Regions from separate parts of the Homo sapiens genome. Here region 2 is linked to region 1. Evidence: promoter capture Hi-C in 16 types of primary human blood cells and fetal thymus (Javierre and others, 2016). All regions are on one chromosome and are shown on one strand. Each heading gives the region's core, a stretch centred on a gene start or on the middle of the fragment in contact. The rest is flanking DNA. Distances are from core to core; before and after follow the strand shown. Region 1 holds the start of ZNF45 (zinc finger protein 45). Region 2 overlaps ZNF180 (zinc finger protein 180).

What was found. The method cuts DNA at HindIII sites, captures the fragments that hold promoters and counts their contacts. A CHiCAGO score of 5 or more calls a contact.
Region 2: a contact is called between a fragment that was not itself captured here and the fragment with the promoter of ZNF45 in region 1, in 7 of 17 cell types (neutrophils, naive CD8 T cells, non-activated CD4 T cells and 4 more). The highest score is 9.0, in neutrophils.

Annotation. Positions count from the first base shown.
Region 1 is chr19:43,932,504-43,937,819 of GRCh38, reverse strand. ZNF45 (zinc finger protein 45) reads left to right here and starts at 2,538. Exons shown (of 10, transcript NM_003425.4): 1 at 2,538-2,896; 2 at 3,126-3,394; 3 at 5,130-5,216. ZNF45-AS1 (ZNF45 antisense RNA 1) reads right to left here. Exons shown (of 3, transcript NR_184050.1): 3 at 2,006-5,316. The HindIII fragment of the contact is 8,828 bases long and covers 248-5,316 here.
Region 2 is chr19:44,484,753-44,490,068 of GRCh38, reverse strand. The region is part of intron 2 of ZNF180 (zinc finger protein 180); the gene reads left to right. Among named protein-coding and RNA genes, the nearest start is that of ZNF180, 13 kb to the left of the region's middle. The HindIII fragment of the contact is 7,682 bases long and covers 1-5,316 here.

The sequences.
Region 1 (5,316 bases), core at 1,289-3,788:
ACATACGTTGGTTTAGTCCAGAAAGGTGTGACAACTGGAAGCAGAGGGGGTTGGGAGTGGAGGGCAGGGTGGGGGGTAGGGGTATGTGAAGTGTGTGGGGCTTCCAGGTTATAGGCAGATTCAAAGATTTTCTGATTGGCAATTGGTTGAAAGAGTTTATCTAAAGTCCTGGAATCAATAGAAAGGAAATGTCTGGGTTAGGATAAGAGATTGTGGAGACCAAGGTTCTTATTACGCAGATGAAGCTTCCAGGTATCAGTCTTCAGAAATAAGAGATCGTAGATTTTTCTCATCAGACTTAAAAAGGTAGCCCAGGCACGGTGGCTCACGGCTGTAATCCCAGTATTTTGGGAGGCCGAGGCAGGCAGGTCACCTGAGGTTGGGAGTTCGAGACCAGCCTGACCAACATGGAGAAACCCTGGCTCTGTTAAAAATACAAAATTAGCCGGGCATTGTGGTGCATGCCTGTAATCCCAGCTACTTGGGAGGCTGAAGCAGGAGAATCGCTTGAACCCAGGACGCGGGGGTTGTGGTGAGCTAAGATTGCACAATTGCACTCCAGCCTGGATGACAAGAGCAAAACTCTTAAAAAAAAAAAAAAGTGTCAGACTCTTAGTTGATTCTCTCCTGGATCAGAAAAAATGGCCTGGAAAAAGGAAAGGAGATTCTCTACAGAATGTAGATTTTTCTCCACAAAGGACAACTTTGCAGGGCTATTTCATGATAGGGCAATGAAACATATTTGGGGTTGAAGTATTTTGATTTCCTTTCTTATCCGTCATGAGGTGTTATGACAGGTTGGAAAGTAAGTCACATTATATAGGGTTAAATTAAAACCCCTCTCATGAGACTTTATGGTTTGGAGGGCTTGACTCCCCAGACCCTTAGATAGGAATTTGAGTAAGAAAAGAAAAAACGGCAGAGTTCAGTCTTCACCCTGGTCTCCCATTTAGCCAGCTCTACGTGTATTAAACTCTTTCTCTATTGCAATTCCTGTCTTGATAAATTGGCTCTCTCTGGGCAGTGGGCAAGATGAGTCCATTGGGTGATTACATTTCTCTCTTCCTCTTACTAAAGTAGAGAGAGTACTTATCCAGATTTTGAAATGGCATTGATGCAGGGCAGTTTCTTGGCTTTGCTCAGGAAAGAATTCAACAGCAAGCCAGCAGCGGAAGAAAGCAGGTTTATCGAATCAACAGTGTTAAAAGCTCAGTGACTGTTCCTTGCAGACCAAGACTAGCCCACAGGCAGTGTGCCCAGAGTAGCAGCATATGGGCTGTTGGCTGGGTATATTTATACCAACTTTTCATTACATGCAAATTAAGGGGTGAGTTACTCGGAAATCTCTAGAAAAGGGGTTGGTAACTTCCAGGTGTTGCCATGGCATTTATAAACCGTCACGGCGCTGGTGGGAGTGTCTTATACTGATAGGTAGCAAAGGGAACTTACAGGTTGCTTTCCATCACTTGCTGGTTTCAGCAGGTTTCTTATCTGATCTTGGAATCACGCCCTGCTGGTCTCCTGCCTCAGCCTAAATTGAACATTGTTCAGATGTTTACAGCTACTCCTATGTAGTCAACTTCCATTTTTTCTTCTTTACCCTTTCATAATAAACTTGGAAAAATATTTAGTTTCTACCTAGGAGAAAAGTGAATAGTATAGCTTTCTGTATTTTTTGCACTTCATGTCTTAATCCCTCACTTCACCTCCCTCTCCTTACTGAATATTCATAGACACTTTGGCAAATCATAAGACACCTTTACAGATTCCTGATTCTGAGAGCAAGAAGTGATGTGATTCCTTAATCTGAACTGAATGTTTTCAAGATTTTATATAGGATAGAGCCTATTCAATACTATAATACTTTCTTCAGTATCCTGCGAATGAAAGAAAACTAAGCGCAAGAAAAGTGGAGAATTTTGCTGCTTTTGTTTCATGTCCTGCTGGATGATTGCATCTCCTTTTTTGAGCATTTTTAATCACAGATGAATCCATACCCATATTATAAAAGGCTTGTTGCTCTGGGCGGCTCTGGCCACCTCTTTTATTACCTCTGTTTTTAGCTCACACATAGCATTCCTTTGTATTTTCCTTTTTTTTTTTCATATTCGCAACTTCTGTCACGTATAAAAGGGAACAATGGCAAAAGGAAAAAGCAGGCTGAGCTCTACAAGCAATGACTTAGACTCCCCCCGCTAATTCAAAAGGAAAATTGCAGGCTGGCGGGAAGCTCAGCCCTACAGAGGATTCTGGGACGTGTGGTCCAGACTTTTGGGGGCACTTCAGCTCTGGGAAAGCGCGGCTTTGTTATTTGCTCCCCTGGGGAAATAGGAACCTATACCCCAGTGCTCAGTGGGTTCGGTGGTACTTCGACTATTTGAGGACGAGAACACGAAGCCCGCTCCCCTTGGGGATTCTGAGAAATAAGATTCGGCCGTGGGAGTCGAAGCCCGCACTTCCGCCCAGGGGGCGGGGCAGCGGCTTCCGTTCCTCCCGGGGATGCTGGGAAATGTAGTTCCAGAGCTCCCTGCTCTCCCGGGCACTTCCGCGGCAAGAGGTTGAGAGCGCGGCCTTCATTCCTCTCGTGGAAGTGAGTGAGTCCTGGGACCCCGCGACCTGTTTTAACTTTTATGGTTTGGTCGTAGGATCAGCAGGGCTCGCACTTCGGTCAGCAGGAAAAGACGCTGCGGCGAGCAGCGGAGGGCGGAGTTGAATGGCTGGGCAGCTGATTGCCTTACTGTATCCGGAGCTGCTGCGTTCGGGGCGGTTCGGGAGTCCCCTGGTTGGAAGTGGACCTGAATGGGGAGGCGTCTGAGGATCTCCTGGGCTCTCAGCGGCCCGACCCGCCTTCCCCCACCTCCCACAGCTCTGTAGCTTCCTAGCGGTGTAACGTTGGGTGAGAACTTAATCTTTCGGTGCTTAGTTTCTGGTCTTAGTTTCCTCTTCTGCAAAAGGAAATATTAACCTTATATATTTGTTTTGACAATTAGTAATATAGTACAAGTAAAATGTGTATGGAATAGTACAGGAATGTGGCAACATGTCGGCCGTTAATATTAAAACTATCATAATAAAAAATATTCATTTTTCAGCAAGCGCCTGGCTCTTCTTTCTGATTCCTGCAGGAAAGGAGGCTGTTCTTGGACTATGCCTGACCCGTTTTTTAAGAAAGAGTGCATCACTCAACAGGTGGCGTCTGGAGTTATCCTCTGTGGATTTTCCAGGATCTCAGACAAGATCGTGCAATCTCCCAGCCTCCTTTCCTTCCCCTGCCCTGACTTCTGAAAGAATGCTGCGGGAGAGGAGGAAGGAGAGCATCCTGGCTTCTGGCAGCAGAGCCCCACTGTGACAGGACCTAGCATTCACCTTCCTCTTCTGTTCCGAGTGCGAGAAGGTATTTCATTCCTTGCAAATGTTTCTGCTACAGAAGTGTTCCGTTATTGTATAATTGGAGAAAATGTGACATGAATATTAGTCACACTAGTTAAACATTGGGTGCTGAGTATCACTCTGAGGGCTTTATAAAAACTAACACACTGAACCTTCACAAAGGCCTTGTGTTGTGGGTTCTGTTCACCTTACAAAGGTGATGTGGGTATTGTGATATGGGTACTGTTATTACACCAATTATACAGATGAGGAAATGGAGAGAGCCTAATTTACTTTCCTATATCACAGTGCTAGTAAGAACAGTGGGATTTGTGTCCTAGACTTGGGTTCCTTACATCTGAATACCCTTGGTCTCACAGTTTGAAATCCCAATTTAGAATTAGGAAATAAAATAGATAAATGATCCATATAAATAATCATAGGAAACTGGCTGCAGAGGAGCCATTTGAGATCAAGTTGGGGAGGGAGGTTGGAATTTTACTGTAGAAGATTTTGAAAGCAAGGTTGAGTTTAGACTTTAGAAAATTTTGAAAGAATTCTCATTTAATTTTAAGCAATATTAGTAGTTCATATTTTGATCATAGAGATGCACGTTCTCTGTACAGGATGTAGAAAATACAGAAATATAAAATATTACAAATTTCCTTAATACTAGGATATAGATAATTATTAACATTTTAATGCATTTCTGTTTAGCAGTTTTTAATGTGTTTTTGTCTGTGTTTTATGAAATTGTTATCACACTATTCATAGTGGGTTGTTATTCCCTTATTTTTTACTATGGAAATATCCAAACATACCCAAATATAATGAACTCTTATGTACAGTCACCCTGCTTCCATTCTTGCTAATCTTATTGCCTCTCCCACCAACTTTTTTTCCCTTGAGTATTTTAAAACAAACCCAGATGATGAGTCAGTAAGGCTTAAAAACTAATAATTATCATTAATTGTGTTTTTTGTTTTTTGTTTTTTTTGAGATGGAATCTTGCTCTGTTGCCCAGGCTGGAGTGCAGTGGTACGATCTCAGCTCACTGCAACCTCTGCCTCCTGGGTTCAAGCAATTCTCCTGCCTCTGGCTTTACAGGTGCCCGTCACCACGCCCTGCTAATTTTTGTGTTTATAGTAAAGACTGGGTTTCTCCATGTTGGCCAGGCTGGTCTCAAACTCGACCTCAAGTGATCCGCCCACCTCAGCCTCCCAAAGTATTGGGATTCCAGGTGTGAGCCACCATGCTAGGCCTCACTAATCGTTTATATATGAAGGCCAAGGGAGGGGCAATTATATTCATTTGCCAGGGCTGCCATAAGAAAATACTACAAATTGGCTGGATTATACAGAAATGTATTTGTTACAGTTCTGGAGGCTAAAAGTCCAAAATCAAGGTGTCACCAGTTTTGGTGGCTTGTAAGGCCTCTCCCCTCTGTGTGCGTGAGCTCCCTTGCTGTAAGTCAACTTCATCACCTCTTTAAAGGCCCTATTTCCAAAGACAGTTATTTCTGAGATACCGAGCGTTAGGACTTTAACGTTTTGAGAGAGGCACACACAATTCAGCCCATAATAGATATTAACAGTAACTCTGAGGTTTTTCACTCCTGGCAGCTAGGAGAATGCTACTTATGTGAGAAAGCTAGAAAGAGTTGCAATTAGGAAAAGAAAGATGATTGATTTTCTTTGCTTTTTTGGAGTTGCACTTGCCACTGGCATATAACTCTTGGTTTCCTATCTCTCTCCCATTAGACTTCAGGGACCTCTGTTTCATGGACATTATCATATTCTTCTCAAGAGTACCCAGCAAGAGGTTTGCAAAGAGGAGTTATTCAGTGAGTAAGTGATTCATGTAGCTCTCCAACAGGCATCTGGATTTTGGGTGCTACAGCTTGCAATTAGAGAACAAAATAGAAGGATTATCCACAGTCCTTGTCTG
Region 2 (5,316 bases), core at 1,321-3,820, 550 kb before region 1:
CTTCCTTTCCCTCTTTCCCTTCCCTTCCCTCTTTCTTTCCTGTCTTTTTCTTTCTTTTCTTTTCTTTCTTTCTTGCTTTTTCTTTCTTTCTTTCTTTCTTTTCTTTCTTTCTTTTCCCTCTTTCTTTCCTGTCTTTCTCTCTCTCTTTCTTTCTTTTTCTTTTCTCTCTTTCTTTCTCTCTCTCTCTCTTTCTCTCTCTTTCTTTCTTGTTCTTCTCTTCTCATCTCTTCTCTTCTTTTCTTTCTTTTCTTTCGGTCAAGTTTATTTATTTATTTATTTATTTTTTCCCATTTCTAAATTTTTCTTTTTTTTTTCTTTTTTTCTTTTTTTTTTATTGATCATTCTTGGGTGTTTCTCGCAGAGGGGGATTTGGCAGGGTCATAGGACAATAGTGGAGGGAAGGTCAGCAGATAAACAAGTGAACAAAGGTCTCTGGTTTTCCTAGGCAGAGGACCCTGCGGCCTTCCACAGCGTTTGTGTCCCTGGGTACTTGAGATTAGGGAGTGGTGACGACTCTTAACGAGCATGCTGCCTTCAAGCATCTGTTTAACAAAGCACATCTTGCACCGCCCTTAATCCATTTAACCCTGAGTGGACACAGCACATGTTTCAGAGAGCACAGGGTTGGGGGTAAGATCATAGATCAACAGGATCCCAAGGCAGAAGAATTTTTCTTAGTACAGAACAAAATGAAAAGTCTCCCATGTCTACTTCTTTCTACACAGACACAGCAACCATCCGATTTCTCAATCTTTTCCCCACCTTTCCCCCTTTTCTATTCCACAAAACCGCCATTGTCATCATGGCCCGTTCTCAATGAGCTGTTGGGTACACCTCCCAGACGGGGTGGTGGCCGGGCAGAGGCGCCCCTCACCTCCCAGACGGGGCGGCTGGCCCGGCGGGGGGCTGGCCCCCCCACCTCCCTCCCGGACGGGGCGGCTGGCCGGGCGGGAGGCTGGCCCCCCCACCTCCCTCCCGGACGGGGCGGCTGGCCGGGCGGGGGCTGACCCCCACCTCCCTCCCGGACGGGGTGGCTGCCGGGCGGAGACGCTACTCACTTCCCAGACAGGGTGGCTGCCGGGCGGAGGGGCTCCTCACTTCTCAGACGGGGCGGCTGCCGGGCGGAGGGGCTCCTCACTTCTCAGACGGGGCGGTTGCCAGGCAGAGGGTCTCCTCACTTCTCAGATGGGGCGACCGGGCAGAGATGCTCCTCACCTCCCAGACGGGGTTGCGGCCGGGCAGAGGTGCTCCTCACTTCCTAGATGGGATGGCCGCCGGGCAGAGACGCTCCTCACTTTCCAGACTGGGCAGCCAGGCAGAGGGGCTCCTCACATCCCAGACAATGGGCAGCCAGGCAGAGACGCTCCTCACTTCCCAGACGGGGTGGCAGCTGGGCAGAGGCTGCAATCTTGGCACTTTGGGAGGCCAAGGCAGGCAGCTGGGAGGTGGAGGTTGTAGCGAGCCGAGATCACGCCACTGCACTCCAGCCTGGGCACCATTGAGCACTGAGTGAACGAGACTCCGTCTGCAATCCCAGCACCTTGGGAGGCCGAGGCTGGCGGATCACTCAGGTTAGGAGCTGGAGACCAGCCCGGCCAACACAGCGAAACCCCGTCTCCACCAAAAAAATACGAAAACCAGTCAGGCGTGGCGGCGCACGCCTGCAATCGCGGGCACTCGGCAGGCTGAGGCAGGAGAATCAGGCAGGGAGGTTGCAGTGAGCCGAGATGGCAGCAGTACAGTCCAGCTTCGGCTCGGCATCAGAGGGAGACCGTGGAAAGAGAGGGAGAGGGAGACCGTGGAAAGAGAGGGAGAGGGAGACCGTGGAAAGAGAGGGAGAGGGAGAGGGAGACCGTGGAAAGAGAGGGAGAGGGAGACCGTGGAAAGAGAAGGAGAGGGAGACCGTGGAAAGAGAGGGAGAGGGAGACCGTGGAAAGAGAAGGAGAGGGAGACCGTGGAAAGAGAGGGAGAGGGAGACCGTGGGGAGAGGGAGAGGGAGAGGGCAAGGGCGAGGGCGAGGGCGTCAAGTTTATTTTTAAAAGTAGTCTGGGCACGGTGGCTCACGCCTGTAATCCCAGCACTTTGGGAGGCCAGTGTGGGCAGATCACAAGGTCAAGAGGTCAAGACCATCCTGGCCAACATGGTGAAACCCCATCTCTACAAAAAATACAAAAATTAGCTGGGCGTGGTGATGTGCGCCTGTAGTCCCAGCTACTTAGGAGGCTGAGGCAGGAGAGTCACTTGAACCCCGGAGGTGGAGGTTGCAGTGAGTTGAGATCATGCCACTGCACTCCAGCCTGGGGACAGCGCGAGACTCTGTCTCAAAACCAAAACCAAAACAAACAAACAAACAAAAAAGTAAAAGAATAAGGAATGGCTACTCCATAAGCAGAGCAGCCCCAGGGGCTTCTGGTTGCCCATTTTTATGGTTATTTCTTGATTTTCTGCTAAACAAGGGGTGGATTATTCATGAGTTTTCCAGGACTGGGGTGGGCAATTCCCAGAACTGAGGGTTCCTCTCCTTTTTAGACCATAGAGGGTAACTTCCTGACAAAACTGTCATGGCGCTGAGACCAGCAGTTTGAGACCAGTCTGGGCAACATGACGAGACCCTGTCTTCTACAAAAAATAAAAAGGCAGTTTAACTGTTGTAGTATGTGTGGTAGTAATGCAAGCAACACAACCTCTTGGCTTTCACATTGGGCCTTCTTTACATTGCAGCAGCTCTGGCTCTTTGATACTTATTGTGAACCTCACAACCTACCCAGTAAATATACAGTGGTGTTTTTAGGTTTGGAGAATCCTTTCCTACCTTTAAATACATTAATGCTAGCCATTTTTAATAACCATTCCTACTGTAATAGTAAAATATTTTCTAGATAGATAAGGAGAAAAAATTGACACACTTATACCTTGACCTCTCCACATCAAGTGATCCTCCCATCTTTGCCTCCCAAGTAGCTGGGACTGTAGGCACATACCACCGTGCCTGGCTTATTTATTTATTTATTTATTTATTATTTTTTGAGATGGAGTCTCACTCTCTTGCCCAGGCTGGAGTGAAGTGGCATGGTCTCAGCTTGCTGCAAACTCCAACTTCCGGTTCAGGTGATTCTCATGCCTTAGCCTCCCAAGTAGCTGGGACTACAGGTATACCACACCTAGCTAATTTGTATTTTTTTGTATTTTTAGTAGAGATGGGGTTTCGCCATGTTGACCAGGCTGGTCTCGAACTCCTGAGTTCAGGCAATCTGCCCACCTCGGCCTCCCAAAGTGCTAGAATTACAGGTGTGAGCCACCATGCCCGGCCTATTTTATATATTTTGTATAGACAGGGGAGCCTCACTGTGTTGCTGAGGCTGGGCTCGAACTCCTGGGCTCAAGTGATCCTTCCACCTCAGCCTCCCAAAGCACTGTGATTACAGGTATGAACTGCTGCACCTGGCCACTTTTATTTTCTTTTAGTTTTTGATCCAATGGCTTCTAAAGAAATGAGTTATCAAAAATTAGCAGTAGTTGCTTTTCAGTGTTTGATTTGAGGAGGAGCAAAGTATCCTTGAATGGGCTATCATTTAACAGACTGAATTATTGTATCCTGTAGGAAAAAACCTGAGGACACTACAAAGGAATTGCGTTGTTTCAAGGTGATTTTTAAAGAGGGAAGCACCTTTCCTGGTTTCCAAATATTTAATTAAAATAAGTGGTTTTGAAAAACATGGATGCAGCATTAAAAGAGAGACAGTGAACCTGCTCCTCAGTTCTACCCCTTCAAAGAATAACTCCTTTTAATGCTTTTGAGAACATCTTTCCAGATTTTTCCGTGCATATTTATATTTTATAGAAATCTATTCATCTTCTGTATAATGTTCTTCATTTTTTCACTCAGCAATATATTATAGACATCTTTCTATTATTTATATGTATCGGTACATGCAAATTTATTTCTTCTCTTGGCTGCTAAATAATATTCAGTCATCTGAATAAAGCATAATTTATTTAACCAGGCACTTCCTAGTGGACATTTAGTCTCCCTTCCCATCTTGCTATGATAATGTAACTTGCTAATGAGGTTTCTTGTATATGCATCCTGATGTACTTTATGTTATTTCCTAAGGATAAGTACTTACAAGTAGACTTAATGGATGTTACATTACACTTTTAAAAATATTGCCTTTAAAAAAACAAAAATAAAAGAATGTACATAAAAATGGAATAAACTCTGTACATGAATTAATAATATTGTACCAAAATTTCAATTTCCTGGTTTTGACAATGTACTGTCATTATATATGATATTACCAGGGAAAGCTGAGTGTGGCTCTATTTTTGCTACTTCTTGTGAATCTTTAAGGATTTCAAAATAAAGCAGTATTTGTAAATACAGATATTTAATATATAGCCAATACAGGAGGGTTGTATCAATTTATACTTCTTCTAAGAATATATGAAGCTCTTGGCCAGTGGGCTGCCAGAGCTGGAGTCATTAGCAACAGACTAATGACTGTGACTGTCACAAAAACACCCGACGTGGTCAGGATGTTGGTTATGTACAGGGCTTGAGCAAATAAGTAAATATAAAGAGGAAAATGGGAGCCAGAGAAAGAAAGTATACATAAAGAAAGGAGAAAAGCTAGACAGAATAAAATGTGTTATTGAATTGTAATTGGAGGTATCCATGTGAACTTATGGTCTCTAATATATACAGATAAAGAAACAGATGTTTGATTTTGATGTAAAGAGGCGAGCATCTGTTTGTATATTCACAGCAGTTTCTTCATAGTTGCATGTGCATTTTTCTTTGTCAGTTGAGGCTACCTTTTACTGATTTGGAAGAAGTCTTAATAGTATAGATTCTTATTGATCATGTGGCACCTTTTGCTAGACTTTTTTTTTTTTTTTTTTTTTTTTGAGATGGAGTCTTGCTCTGTTGCCTAGGCTGGAGTACAGTGGCATGATCTTGGATCACTGCAACCTCCACCTCCTGTGTTCAAGTGATTCTCCTGCCTCAGCCTCCCAAGTAGCTGGGACTACAGGTGCGTGTCACCATGCCCGGCCAGTTTTTGTATATTTAGTAGAGACGGGGTTTCACCATGTTGGCCAGGCTGGTCTCAAACTCCTGACCTCAAGTGAACTGCCTGCCTCAGCCTTCCAAAGTATTGGGATTACAGGTGTAAGCCACCGCACCCGGCCTGCTAAACATCTTATGAAATTAATTTGTTGATCTTTTTCTTTATGATTCTGGCATTGGTTATGCTGTATTCCATTTTATTTGCTTATAATTTTGTGACCCAGGAATTTTGGCAGGTCCCGCTGGAC